Linked DNA regions of Homo sapiens: region 1 is linked to region 2. The links are contacts of gene promoters, found by promoter capture Hi-C in human tissues and cell types (Jung and others, 2019). All regions are on one chromosome and are shown on one strand. Each heading gives the region's core, a stretch centred on a gene start or on the middle of the fragment in contact. The rest is flanking DNA. Distances are from core to core; before and after follow the strand shown.

Region 1 (6,918 bases), core at 2,704-5,203, 1.3 Mb after region 2:
GACAAACCAGGAAATTATAGGCTGAAATACCTAAAATTTATTCTATTCAACTGAACGAATCTCCTAATAAGTGTGTGTATATTGAGAAGTCATGCTCTACCTGTTTTGAAAGACATGGAAATTTCAGGAAAAGTGCAAGGTGACAGCAGATCGCAGCTTGTCGAGATTTGTCCTCAAAAGGGTAAGTGCCTGGTCTTGGGCCGAGTTGCCCAACAGTTTGTTAAAGGAGTCTTAAGAGCTGGGAACCGGTATGTTGCCATGGAGCACACCAACTCAATGTTCAAGCTGACCATATTCAAAGTCTGGCACTGCCCCCTCCTAGGCAAGCAGAGGACTCACCTGCCTCCCTCAGTCTCCTCCTTTGTGAAATGGCGATGACAACAATACCCATCTCCTGGGGTTGCTGTGAGGACAGATGAGCAAAGCATTTGGCACACTCTTGGGTATGAGGTCCCCTCCAAAAAAAAGGAACCCAGTCAACTTTTGTTGTTAAGCAGCAACTGGCAAGACCAAGAAGAGCCCTGGAGGCCCCACAAAGTGGGATTCCATAGAGCCACTGGAGCATAGTCAAGTATCCCAAGCAAGAGAGAGGAGAGGGTCCCAGAGGAGGCCCAGGCAGCTGGCGGGTGGAGCACTGGTCGGGAAAGCCAAGGACAGGCACTCGCAGCCAGGGCGGCTGTGTGGGTGGGAGGACGCAGGGGGCTGCGCTCCAGTCTCCCCTAATTAGCTCAACCTGGCTACATCCTTACCATTGCATGTGTTCATCCTTATGTGAAACGGAGCCCATATTGACCTAGCACCCAGTATGTGCAAGGCGCTGGCTGAATAGGGAGCTGCAGCGGGAGATTTCAGCGTGATCATCACCTCAGAGACTTAATAACTGGGTGTTTCTGCCCAGATTCAGAAGTCTGTCCTTTTGTGAGCTGGATTGTAAGGAGATGACCAGATGCTGAGAAATTTTTATTTGGAGGCTGATTTTTTTTTTCTTTCAGTAAGTGGAAAAGCAAAGAATTTGAAAGTGTTTTGGGAAATCTGAACACCAGTTGAATCTTGGTAATGTTTAGGGGGTATTATTAATTTTTAGGTGGAATAATGATAATGTGGCTAAGTTTGACAAGAATCTATTCTTTGGGGATAAAGAATGAACTTTTTTTTTTTTTTTGAGACAGAGTCTTGCTCTGTTGCCCAGGCTGGAGTGCAGTGGCACAATCTCGGCTCACTGTAACCTCCATCTCCCGGGTTAAAACGATTCACCTGCCTCCCAAATAGCTGGGACTACAGGCACACTCCACCACGCCCGGCTAATTTTTGTATTTTTAGTAGAGACAAGGTTTCACCATATTGGCCAGGCTGGTCTCAAACTCCTGACCTCAACTGATCCGCCCACCTCGGCCTCCCAAAGTGCTGGGATTACAAGCATGAGCCACCACACCCGGCCCAGAAGAACTATTGACAGATGAAATGATATGATGTGATATACAGGATATACTTCAGAATTGTACAGGAGGTAGGGCGGTGGATGGTGGCACTGATGAACAGGTTTGGCCATGAGTTGGTGATGCTGAGACTGGGTGGGTACACGGGGTTCATCATATCACTCTGTCTCCTTCTGCATATATTTGAAATTTTCCATAATAAAATGTTTTAAGTTCAGAAAAACTAAAAATGTTTTAACTCAATGATTCTTGTCTTACTAGCACTTGCAATACAGTATTTACTTCCTACAGACGTGTTCTTGGACAAGAAATGAAGCTATGGAAAAACCTGTCAGGGAGGGCTGGAGAACAGATGGACACCCCCACCCGAGGTCAGAAAAGCAACCTACACAGCCCTCCCCACACTTATGTGGGGACCAAGAGTGGGGTCCTGCCCCTCTGGGCCTCTTGGGCTGGAAGAGTACAGGCAGAAGGACTGATGTCCATTTTGACACTGCTTTTAAGCTCAGTAAAAATTACTATAAAATTGGTTTCAATATATTTTTAAAGCACAATGAACTTTTTTTTTTATTTCCTCAGCAGAAAGCCATCATAGCAGGGTAGGCAAGCTACTCAACCTTTCTAACCTTACTTTTCACAACAGGAAAATGGGGATACTTACATATCCCCCATTTCCCAGGGCATGAGGGTGAATGAGATCAGTGTGTCGAGTGCCTAGCACAGTAAGAACTGTAACAGGGTGGGTCTAATATGTGGCTTTTTTGTGGCTGTTAAGCCTCTGAGAGGACCACAGTAGAGCCACCCCATCGTGAACACTCTGAATTTGAATGCTTTTCTTAAACATTTAAATTAAATAAAAATCAAGGCACACATCCTCTGAAACCCCTTTGGGCCAGGTACCTTGCTGGGTGTCAGCCCCTTCAAGTGTCACAGAAGCCATGGCTGTGCTCAGCGCCCCCCAGCCAGAGGAGCTGCCCAGGCTCTGGAAAGAACAGGGCAGTTGGGATAGAGCCACCACAGCTCTCTCTAGTTGAAGAATTACTTGGAAAATGAAGAGTAAGGCACTGCCCACTCTGGTCCATGGCTTTGAATGTCAAAATGCACCCCCAGAAAGCAGACCTGCAGCAGACCAACCCTTCCCAAAGATGGGGTTCAGGGTCCTCTAGACAAACAGCAGACCCTGGGCGTGGCAACATCTCCCAAAAAGGAGCTGAGTCTCAGGCAAGTGGTCCCTGAAGGCCTCTATACACCACAATGTACCTTCACTGGTGCAAAGGCCCTGCCAAATGGCTGTGCAAAAGTGGCCAGGCAAGAGATACAGTTCTAAGAAGAAATCAAGGAGCCATGGCACGCAGGACTCCCAGGAGAGGCAGGTGGCCTGCACAGCCAGTTCACGCTCCAGGCTACTGTGTGGGTGGCCTCCTGCTGACAAGCTTCAGCCAGAAGCGGGTATTTGGGACTTTGGGTGACAAGACTGGAGGAGACAAGGGAACCTAAGCAGAAGGTCATCCAGACCACCGTCAGAGTGGCCACACCAAGTCTTTGGGTTCTTGCTCTAAGTCTGCCAGCCAGATGAAGGGATGGAGGATTCACATCCAGCCACATCTTGACCCTGCTGATTCTGGAGGAGAATGGATGGAGCCCTGCACTGGCTCCACCTGCTCCCTCTTCTCCCATAAGAGGAAACAAGAAAGGAGGCTGGAGAGCCCAAGACAAAACTCAAGAATGTTCTCGAAAGGTCCTTGGGCTTTGAGACCTTCACAATGCAGTCATAAGATTATCCTGAGCTTCTGAAAGCCCCCTGGCTCCAGAGAAGAGAGCAATCTCTGGCTGCTAAACCTTGAGTGCAAAGGCTAAGGGCACGCCGGGGCCAGAATGCCTGGGTTCAAATCCTAGCTCTGCTATGTATTAGCTCTGTAACATTGGGCAAAGTACTTAACCCCTGTTTCCTCCTCTGTAAAATGAGGATAACTATGGCCCTATAGGGCAGAGTCGTTGCCTAGAACAGTAGAGAACTCAAAATTAATTTAGCAAGGGGCCCTCCTCTGCCCAGTGGGATGTGCTACTATTGACCCCATGGGGTTCTGGAAGAAATCAACATGCTACTACAATGGAAGGCATTTGAAGGAAGTGGAAAGTTTTCACAGAAAGTAGCCCAGAGACATGCACAGAGTGCTGCTCTCTGTGCAGACCAGAAACCCCAAAGATTTGTGCCTCTTTCTGTCAGAATGCAGCTTTCTGGAGCCCACCGGGCTATAGAAGCTGCATGGCGTCTGGAATGGGAATGGGTTGGCCTAGTCTTCCCCTGGAGGTATGGAGAGGAAAGGTGACACTTTCAGGCTTTGTGCAGGACAAGCAGAGAATATCACTCAAATCCAAGCTGGCTGCCCTGTGGGGGACACAGGCCCATGCCGGCAGGCCTGGGGAGAGCCACCGCTTGCTGAGGTTAGGCCAGCACCAGTGGGTGTGAGGAACCCACCTCCAGTCTCAAGAGCAGGGTTGGGCTTCCCTGGATGGGGAGGAAAGGGTTAAGCCGGCTTGGGCTCTGGAGGGAAAGCACTCGGCAGCTATAAACAGAGAGCCTAGGGAGGGAGGGGGCTGACAGGATGTGGCCAGGGCTCGAGCTGTCTGATTATTAACTTCACTTTTATTTGGAGGGGGATTTGATTCTCTGTTTTACTTCCCATCAAGGAAGTGAAAGCCCAGGTCTCAGAGGGGCCTGGTTTCAAATTGTTTTGTCACAGCTCATTTATTTTTCCTTTTAAATAAATAAACAAAACCACCTCTTTGTTTTCCCCTTAATGAGCATTCAGCAAATCATCTGTGGGTGAGGCATGAACGGGGTTTTCTGGAGTCCTTCATGGGAGAACATTTGGCTTATTATTTTAAAAGGAAAAAGCAAGGATGTCTCCTTTAGCTCCCAGTCTTCTCCAAGGCTGTGAAGGCACTTTCTCTTTTGCCTCCTCTGAAATACCGACCTAGACCAGCGAGGAGTCTGAAATCACAGCCTCAAGCTCGGCCAAGGCCCCAGGAGCTTCCTTGGTTGGACCTTGGGGCTGGACCCGCAGCCTGCCATTCCATCTGACAGGCCCTGACCCTGAGGCCACGCAGAGGAAGCACCCAGCACGGGCTCAGTGGTTTGTCTTCTTGCTTGGGCTCAGACCCATGGCTTTTGTTCCTCTGACACCCTGACATTTCTACTAAAATAACAAAGCAATTAAACACACAAAAGGATTCCATGACAGCCTTAAAAAACACCATTACATGTTCCTTTACCCAAGGTTGAAAACATTTGGGAACTTGATTTCCAACATCAAAATCCAGATCAAAACCCATTCAACAATCCCATGATCCCCTTGCAACAACCCTTTCCTGGCCAGTATCACAGGGTGCCGACCCTCACAGGGTCTCACAATTCAACAATTCAGTGAGAGAGGATGCAGCAACAAAGACTGTAACGAAAAAACAAGAGAGTCTAGGGTCTCACATCAACAATTCAGTGAAAGAGGATGCAGCAACAAAGACTGTAAGGGAAAAACAGGAGAGTCTACAGCTGAAGCTACTGCTACTCAAGGTGGGCAGAGAACGGAAGAGACGGATTCTGTTGGAAACTAAGAGGGGAAATCCAGGAAGGCTTCCTGGTGGAGCTGATCTTTAAGCTGAACCTTGAAGGACTGGTAAGATGAACGGATGTTCTGGAACCTGAGAAACACCCAAGTACCAGAGAGACAGCATCCATGTGTGAACTACTCTAGACAGAGGCAACAGGCGTGGTGGGGCCTGGGGCTCCTCAGAATGGCACCTCAAGTCCCCATGGTGGTCAGGGACTGGAATGCATCGGCCGCCTGCAGCCAGCTCCGCGGGGCCAGTCCCTGACCTCTGGCTCGGAGATTGGTGTGCCCGGTGAAGGAGTTGCCCAAGCATCTTAGGCAACCAGATACTACGCCTGGCCTTGGACCCTGCCACTTGCCTGCCCCACAAAAACCTGCTGACCGCTGTGACCTACTTTAACGCCCTCTGACTTCCCGCTCTTTGAATATGGGGCAAAAAGAAGAAGGGCGACTGGCACCATCCAATTCACTTGAGGCTCGGAGGCTCAGGCCTGCCTTCCTGGCGGCTACTGGGGTGGCGTTTCCCAGCACCCCCGGGAAGCTACCAAGGTCCAGGGCTCTCCTGGGCTTCTGCGACGCCCACGCACTCCTGCGGCCGAGCTTCGCGGTCGGGCTCTCCCGTCGCCACCCCGGCGTCTGCTCAGCCGCGAGCGAGAACCAAGCCGGGCCGGGCGCGGGGCCCGGGCGAGGCCGCCAAGATGGCCGACGCGCTCGGCAGCGCGCGGATCACGCGGGAAGGCTGCCCTTGGCCTCCCGGGAAACAGCCAAGGTTCCGCCGCCCTCCTTGGCGCTCTGCCCCGGCCGGCCTGCCGGGATCTCCTCCCCGGCGCGGTCTGCGGCTCCCGGGGCCTCGCAAACCTTCCAGGCCCGAGGCCATCCAGACGTGCACACCAGGCCCGGCCCGCGAGGGGAGACACAGGGGCCGGGGCTGCGGCGGCTGAGCTCCCTGGGCGGCTCGGAACGCAAGGGGCCGGCGAGCCGACGCTGCTGCAGGAGGCTGCGGCGTGGGGCGAGGTTCTCGCTACGGCTTCGTTCCCGTCCTCCCGCGGCCGCTCTCCCCCGGAAGCCCTCGGAGGCAGCACGATGGACGTGGCCACACTGCCCTCCAGTGGCCAGCTCGCCGAACAACACGTCTGGGCCCCTTTTGGGGGTCTGGGTGACGTGTCCACCCTCTCTCTGCCCTTTGCTACATTTGAAGGTGGGGTTTGCTCATCCATGGTTCCTCTTACAGGTCACCAAAGCTGCCACAGTGCACACTCACCCAACAGCAGGGGATTTGCCGCCTTCGGTGGTTCTCAAACTTCAGTGTGCACAGGAATCCCCCCTTGGACAGTTCTTTCAAACCCGGATTGCTGGGTCCCCCAACCAAGTCAGAGAATTTGCATTTCTAACAAATCCTCAGGCGATGCTGAGCTGCTGGTCCGCTGGTCCTGGAGCCACACTTAGAGAACCACTGGCTCGGCTCACTCTTTCTCTCACGGGGTTTCTGTCATCTACTCATTTAATACAGAATATGTCCTGCTAGCCCCGGAGGACGAGTGGACGGAACAACTTTCTCACCCCTCGCGGAGCTTAGTCTAACGGAGGAGACAGACTTGTTTCAACAAATCACCTAGAAAGAAATATAAGATTCCATTTGAAAAGACTTTCAAATTCCTATGAAGGAAAAGAATCAGGTGCTCAGAGAACATATATAAATGGGGCACTCATTTAGATTTGGGATGGGAAGGTTCTTGAGGAAGACCTCTCTGAGGAAACCCTTAAGCTGAGGCCAGGAGGAGGGATGAGGTCCTGAGGGGAATGGGGAGGGGACTGGAACTGGCAGGAGGAGCAGGTAAGATGCAGACCCTGTCTGTAGAAGCAGAGACTGG
Region 2 (7,236 bases), core at 3,249-5,748:
TGAGAAAAATCACTCAAGGGCATACCAGTCAATACAGACCCCAGACAGGTGCGTGACAATGCAGACTCCTGGGCCCACTGATCTGAATAGCTAGAGGTGGCCTGGAATCTGTATTTTCAGATCAGCATTTTAAGACATGAGGTTAGATTTGGAATCACTGCCCACCTCCTCATTGGAATCCTTCTCCACCAGGCCCTCCTTCCATGCTGCTCCTCCTGGGTACTTTCCAGCTCCCTAGTCTTTGGGCGCCTTGCTAGTCCTTTACACCTCTACACCTTCAAGTTCCCTCCTCATTTCATAATATTTACTAGATTCCAATAATATGCCAGGCACTGAGGCAGGCCCTTTATCTCCATCTTTATAATAACTCTCTAAGGAAGGAATTCTGATTCCTGATTTACAAACGAGGAACACCTTCCCTCCCCTCCCCATCCGCTGCCTGGCTCTCTCTGGCTCCCATACCCACAGGTATACTGAACAGATTATTTGCAGTGAATGTATGTGGTAACTGCATTACTTCCACCCTGTGTCCCCTGGGTGGAAGAGCCAGGATTCAAGGACAGGCATGTCTAGTTCTAAAGCCTGTGCCCAGAGTTGATAGGTCACACTTGCCACACTTTCCTTCCTAGCACAGTGGCTGGAAAATAGCAAGTATTCAATAGATATTTGTTAGTGAGTAACTGAATGAATAAATGAAAGAAGAGTCCATACTTAAAGTTAGGACACTTCCTCCCATCTTTCCATACCCATCTCACATGCACACATATACACGCTCACACACACACTGAGGATTTAGCCACTGGGCCATTTCCTTTCCTTCCTAACTGGCCCTTCTCTGCATGTCCAATCACTGCCTTCCTAGCCCCACTTAGATGGTGACTCTTGACACTCTGCTCTAACCCATGGTTACCTCACCTCTCATGTCCCATGGTGGCTAATCCTGACAATCACCGAAGAGCCAAATTGCTCCCAAAGATTCAGCAGTAGAAGTAACCTCCTGACTTCTTTGTGACCCAAGGCAGAGAGCAGAAGCCTGGACTAGGACTGGCCCCAAGTTTCCTGGGAGTCTGAAACTCCCTTCTCCTTCTTCTCCCCTCTCTTCCCCTTCCAACAGTAACTGAGAACCAGGTCCTGAAGGCAGGAGGAGGGGATCCCTTGATTTGAGGCTTTTTTGGTGATATAGGAGAGGGTCTCTTTGGAGCTCAGAGAAAGCAGGTAGGGATGGGAAGCAGGGTTTCTAGAAGGCTCGTACAAGGGAAGATGAATTGTCAACCATTTCACCAGCTCTCCTAGAGTTATTCCTGTCTCTCAAGCCATCTGCTTATCCATTGCAATCTTGTAAACAGAGATTTACAAGATCTCTCGTAAACTCCAGCCAATATTTGTTCAAAGAATAAATAACAAAAGCTTCCATTTATAGATCACTTGCTGCATGCCAGACAACATACTATCTCATTTAATCATTTCAACAACCCTAAGAGGCCAGAATTATTATCATCATTATTTTACAAACATGGAATTAATTCAGAAACCTTAAGCAACTGCCCCAAGGTCCCACCACCACTTAAGTGATAAAGCTTAAACTGAGCTCTGGCCAGTTCCAAGTTCCCCTTTCCCTCCCATAGTGCTGTCCAAGGAACAAGGCCCAGACTAAGATGCTGTAATATTGACTCTGTAGGAATTTATTTTTTAAACATTCCAGCCTAAACCATGTAGTGTGTGTATATAAAGTGACTCTCCTGTAACTCCTAGAGTGGTTAGTTAGCATCTGAAGTGCCCTAATCAGGAATCCGCACTCCAGAAAATGGTTACATAAGCACTTCAAACAACATCAAAATATACACCCAAGGGCTTAATGTGCTTGAGGGATGCTAGAAATAATCTTTTATTGGTGAAATAAGCAGTTTTCAAAACATGGAGTTGGCCAGGAAGATTATTTGCCCTTGCATGAATGGAGTGTGAGAGCCAGAGCAGGCCAACTGCCCCATTTTCTTGAAGCAGGCTGTGTGACTGTTTTGTGCCAGCTTGCCAATACATGTATATTTGGCAGAATTTGGCCTTAACTATTTTTAATATCCCACCTGCAGGAGATTACAGAAAAGAAGACGAATGGCCTCCTCTCACCTCTCACGTCCCATGGCAGCTAATACAATCATTGAAGGACTAAATTGGCTCAGACCAGTTGACAAGTCCCCATCCCGGCCTCATCTTCTTTCACAAGAATGCCCTAGCATATCCTTCAACTCAGGCACATGATGGCTTTTCTTCCCATCTCTCTGTTCCATCCTCCATTCTCCTTTGTCAGGTCACTTGTAATAATAAGCTAATATCCAAAGAAAGGGGCTCTAGGGGTGATGGTGGGTATTATAGTCCCAGCTACCTGGGAGGCTGAGGCAGAAGGACTGCTTGAGCCTAGGAGTTCTGGGCTGCAATGAGCTATGATTGCCACTGCATTCTAGCTTAGGCAACAGAGCAAGATCTTATCTCTTAAAAGAAAACAACAACAACAACAAAAGTTGTAACTTGCCCAAGTCACATAGCTAAAAAGTGGAAGAGACATAACTGAAACTCAAGCCTCCTAAATTCCTAATGTAGGGTTCAGTCCACCTCTACCACCCTCCCACAGACTGCCAAGGGGTCCTGCTCAGAGTTGGGCAATGGTGAGATGCACTCTATGGCCCCAAACTCATTGAAAGTAACAACTGAGCTGAAAAAAATGTGGAGTCTCTTCTGCCCTCTACAGAAGTAACCAGCTATAGGGGAGAGCATGCTCCTCCCATTCCACTCTCCATGGTGCGTCTCTTTTCACTATATAACAAAGTTATATTAAATGAGTTCTGGGCCGAGGTGCGGTGGCTCATCCCTGTAATCCCAGCACTTTGGGAGGCCGAGGCAGGAGGATTTCTTGAGTCCAGGAGTTTGAGACCCCACCTCTACTAAAAAAAAAAAAAAATTTTTTTTTTTTTTTTTGCTGGGTATAGTAGCATGTGCCTATAGTCCCAGCTGTTCATGAGGCTGAGATGGGAGGATTGCTTGAGCCCAGGAGTTCAAGTTACAGTGAGCTATGATTGTGCCACTGCAATCCAGCCTGGAGAACAGAACAAGAAGAACCTATGTCCAAAAAAAAAAAAAAAAAAAAAGTGAATGAATGAATTAATGTCTTCTTAGCAAAATCCAGAGAACGTGTTTTTGGGCTTCCTTATGCAACTTCTGGAATGTTGAAGTGGATAGCCTGAGCATTGTCCCACAAAATGGGGCTAATCTATCCCAATCCCCACGAGCTATAAAGCTGTTTGCAAGTTCAGCCATTGAAGTCCCATTGGCCCAGTTAAATTCTCACGTTTGGCCTCCTGCACTACCAGCTTTCCTTAGTGTCTGGGCTCTCAAAACTTCTACGTGAGAATGGCCTGGGGTACTTTAGTTAGAGATTCAGATTCAAACCCAGGGTGGGGGTGTTCTTCATGGTGCCTGGGATGAGTCTTCCAAGGACCATTTGGAGAAACAGGCGCTGATGGTATTTTGCTTCTGTTCAGTCCTTCACTGACAGAGAGCCTGCAGGGTTGAGGAAGAAGGCTCTGTTTTGAAGTGTGGATCCCTCCCTGCAATGGTCTCTATTTGCATCTTCTTTACTCCAGGCTCACCTAGCCAAATGTTGAGTTTTCCAACCCCTCTGGGTATGAGATTGCTTTGGGCGATCTGAGATCTGCAAATGTCTGAGAACGAGGAGCACATGGGCACGCTGATGACTGCCCTGCAAACTGCCTGGCAGCCAGGGTCCTCCTGGGCCCTCCTTTAAAATAACATATACATAAGCCGGCCTGGAGGCCCAGGCGGGAAGATCACTTGAGCTCCGGAGTTCGAGTCCAGCCTGGGCAACATAGCGAGACCAGAAAATAAGCAAGTAAGTTACTCTCTGGGCTGTCGTAACTTATTTTTTCTTTTTCTCCTGCAAATTGCAACTCAGAACATTTGGTCTGCCAGACTGAAATATGGACTTCTGTTCCAAATATCCAGACGTTACAGTTCCCACAGGTGGCCAGGAGAATGCTGGAACCTTTGGCGGAGACGGTCTGGTCTTGTCCCGCAGCCCGCGAGGGTCCCCCGCTATTTGGGGTCAAGCAGATCCCCGGGGCGCTCTGGCCACCCCTTGCGGCAGCTGGTGCGGCCTCCTCGGAGAGCTCCGGGCCGGCGCCCGGGACACCCCGCCGCCCTCCCTGCCGCCCCAGGGACGAGCCCAGCGGTGCGGAGAAGTGGGAGGCTGGAGCCTGCTGAGGTCATTTCCTGTGCCTCTCCGCGAGCTGCCTGGAGAGCTGAGCCCAGCGCTCTGCCTTTAAGGAGCGGGCGGGGAGCCGAGGGGAGGAGGGCGCCCGGCGGAGCGTTGAATGGGGCGCAGCAAGGCTCGGCCGGGCTTTGTGCAGCGAGCCCGCGGGCACCCCTCCCGCTCCAGCCTCGCCCCGCCCCGCAGCCCACGACCCCTGCTGCCGGGGAGGGGAGAACCGGCGGCAGCCCGGGACTCCGGCGAGAGCGACGCAAGGTCGGCTGCGGCGGCGGCCCGAGGGCGCCCGTGTGCCCAGTGCGCGGCGGGGACGGCCGCGAGCTCGCTGGAGGTGAGCGACCCGCGCTCCCGCCGCTGTGGTGGGCTGGGGCTGCGCCGCGGCGGAGGGCGTCAGGCTGCGCGCGGGGGACGGCCCCTCGGGCCCAGAGGACGATCCGGAGCAGGTGCCTCCCTACCTGGAAGCGAGCTCCCAGCGGCGGGGAGCGCTGGAGCGCGGGTCTGGCTTGGGAAGCCGGGCGCCCCAGGGGACTCGCGCCGCGAGGCCAGGAGGAGCCTCCCCCGGGAGTACCTGGACTTGGGGATCGGTCAGATCCAGCCGCTCCTGGGAAGGGCCCTCGGAGCGGACGTGCAGGCTGCCACCTTGCTATCGGTGCTCGCTCCCTTTCACCCCTTCCCGCACCCCTCCCCATCTCACCTCAGGTTATTTCTTCTGTGATTTCTGAGTGTTGTCTTTGGGACCCTATGGCTCAGGCTCGACTCCTAGGAGCAGGTCATTCAAGCAGAAAAGAAAACAGGTTGGGCGCCGAATGACACAGAGCATTGTGTCCTAGGAGTCTTAGCGAGGACTCGGTCACCAGGAACCAGGGGCCTTAGTGGGGGTGGCAGAGGCGGTGAAGAGCCTCATCTGGAAGGAAACTCCTCTCCTTGTGGGATTTCTGCTTGCCAGGATATCTCCTCCATAGCTTTTACTATGAATCCACCTCATAAAACTCTTCCAAGACAGAGCCTTGGTTCAGGTAAAACACTTGAAAGACCATTTAAAAAATTCAGTGGGAGAATTATCAGTTCCTTCATCAAACTGTTTGGACTGTCTTCTATGTGACAGACACTGTGTATAGGGCTAGTACCATCACTGAACGCTTTATAGAACATCGGTATTAGTGTTTCTGCATATTATTGGCCCCATTTTTCCAAAGGAGGAAGCTGGGACTCTGAAAAGTTGTGATTTAGGCCAGTTGCAGTGGCTTATGCCTGTAATCCCAGCACTTTGGGAAGCCAAGGCAGGAGGAGAGCTTGATGCCAGGAGTTCAAGACCAGCCTGGGCAACATAGGGAGACCCTGTGTCTACAAATAAATAAAAATTTAAAAATTAGCTGGGTGTGGTGGTGTGGGCCTGTAGTCCCAGCTAACTTGGGAGGCTGATGATCCTGTCTGTTAAAAAAAAAATTGTTGTGATATGCCCATGGTCACATAGCTAAAAAGTGGAAGAGCCATAACTGAAACCCAAGCCTCCTAAATTCCTAACGTATGGTTCAGTCCACTTCTACCACCTTCCCATAGACTGCTGAGGGGGCCTGCTCAGAGTTGGGCAATTGTGGGGTGCAGCCTGTGGCCCCAAACTCATTGAAACTAACAACTAAGCTGAAAAAATGTGGAGCCTCTTCTGCCCTCTTCAGAAGTCACCAGCTGTAGGGGAGAGCATGTTCCTCCCATTCCTGATAGAAAAAAAAAAATCCAAAGAAATGTCTGGCAATTTAAAGTGTACATCATTTACCCCTAAATTCCATTTTCTGGGACTTTATCCTTCAGATATACTCTGATGTATATGAAATGGTGTACATCATTGAATATTCATTGCAGCATTGTTTAGCAAAAGGTTGGAAACAATCTAGATGTCCATCAATAAGGAACCCTTCAATAAGATCATGTAAAAGCCACACGATAGGATACATTAAAGCTGTTATAAAGCGTGCAGAGAAAATGTGGCAGATATATACTTTGATGTAGGAATATCTCTAAGTTATATTGTTGAGTACAGTGTGTATGGTGGGCCACGATTTTTGGGTGGGTGTGTGAATGCCACATACATATGAATGCCTGTAGATGCTCTGAATATCTCTGAGAGAACACACAGAAACCTGTAACAGTGGTTGCCGCTGGGGAGAACTATGGCTGAAGTACAGGCATGGGAAGAAGCCTTACTTTGCACTATATACCCTTTTGTTCAATGTTCTAAAATAACTTTAAAAATCATATGACCTCCTCTCCAGATCTCCAGAGTTAGATCTGGTAGTGAGCACATCTTTTTTTTTTTTTTTTTTTTTTTTTTTTGAGCCAGAGTCTCGCTCTGTTGCCCAGGCTGGAGTGCAGTGGTGCAATCTCAGCTCACTACAACCTCCGCCTCCAGGGTTCAAGCAGTTCACCTGCCTTAGCCTCCCAAGTGGCTGGGATTAACAGGCATGCGCCACCACACCTGGCTAATTTTTGTATTTTTAGTAGAGACAGGGTTTCACCATGTTGGCCAGTCTGGTTGAACTCCTGACCTCAGGTAAGCCGCCTGCCTCCACCTCCCAAAGTGCTGGGATTACAGGCTTGAGCCACCGTGCCCAGCCTCGTGAGCACATCTTTGGGCCACATCTCCTTTTATGTTCTAGATGCTATTGGTTTGCCTTTGTTTGCTGATTACAACAATAACAGTCATTTATTGAGTACTTAGTGTGCACCAGGCTTTTGTAATATCTCCTTTAATTCTCAAAAAGCCCTGCATGATGTGATATATGAAATGGCCATTTTGAAGGTTGGAAAATGGTTAAATGACGGTTTCATATGGTTCAACCAAATATTATTGTCCTGATTTTCAAATATTACTGCCCTCAATTTCAGAATGGAACTGAGTCTCAAAGAAGTTAAGCAAATGGCTTAAGGCCACAGGATTATTTAGTGCCTGAGCTCGTATTCAA

The links. The method cuts DNA at HindIII sites, captures the fragments that hold promoters and counts their contacts. A contact is called where the count stands out against the background at its distance.
Region 1: a contact is called between a fragment that was not itself captured here and the fragment with the promoter of PLEKHH1 in region 2, in 1 of the 25 tissues and cell types used here (hippocampus).

Annotation. Positions count from the first base shown.
Region 1 is chr14:68,810,710-68,817,627 of GRCh38, forward strand. No RefSeq gene overlaps it. Among named protein-coding and RNA genes, the nearest start is that of ZFP36L1, 21 kb to the left of the region's middle. RefSeq lists enhancers at 4,314-4,433, 5,039-5,258, 5,339-5,568, 5,585-6,324, 6,199-6,248 and 1 more and a silencer at 5,709-6,098. The HindIII fragment of the contact is 6,181 bases long and covers 864-6,918 here.
Region 2 is chr14:67,528,792-67,536,027 of GRCh38, forward strand. It overlaps PLEKHH1 (pleckstrin homology, MyTH4 and FERM domain containing H1), which reads left to right and starts at 4,499. Exons shown (of 29, transcript NM_020715.3): 1 at 4,499-4,607. It also overlaps a transcript of GPHN not described here and a transcript of TMEM229B not described here. RefSeq lists a silencer at 4,123-4,592. The HindIII fragment of the contact is 40,466 bases long and covers 1-7,236 here.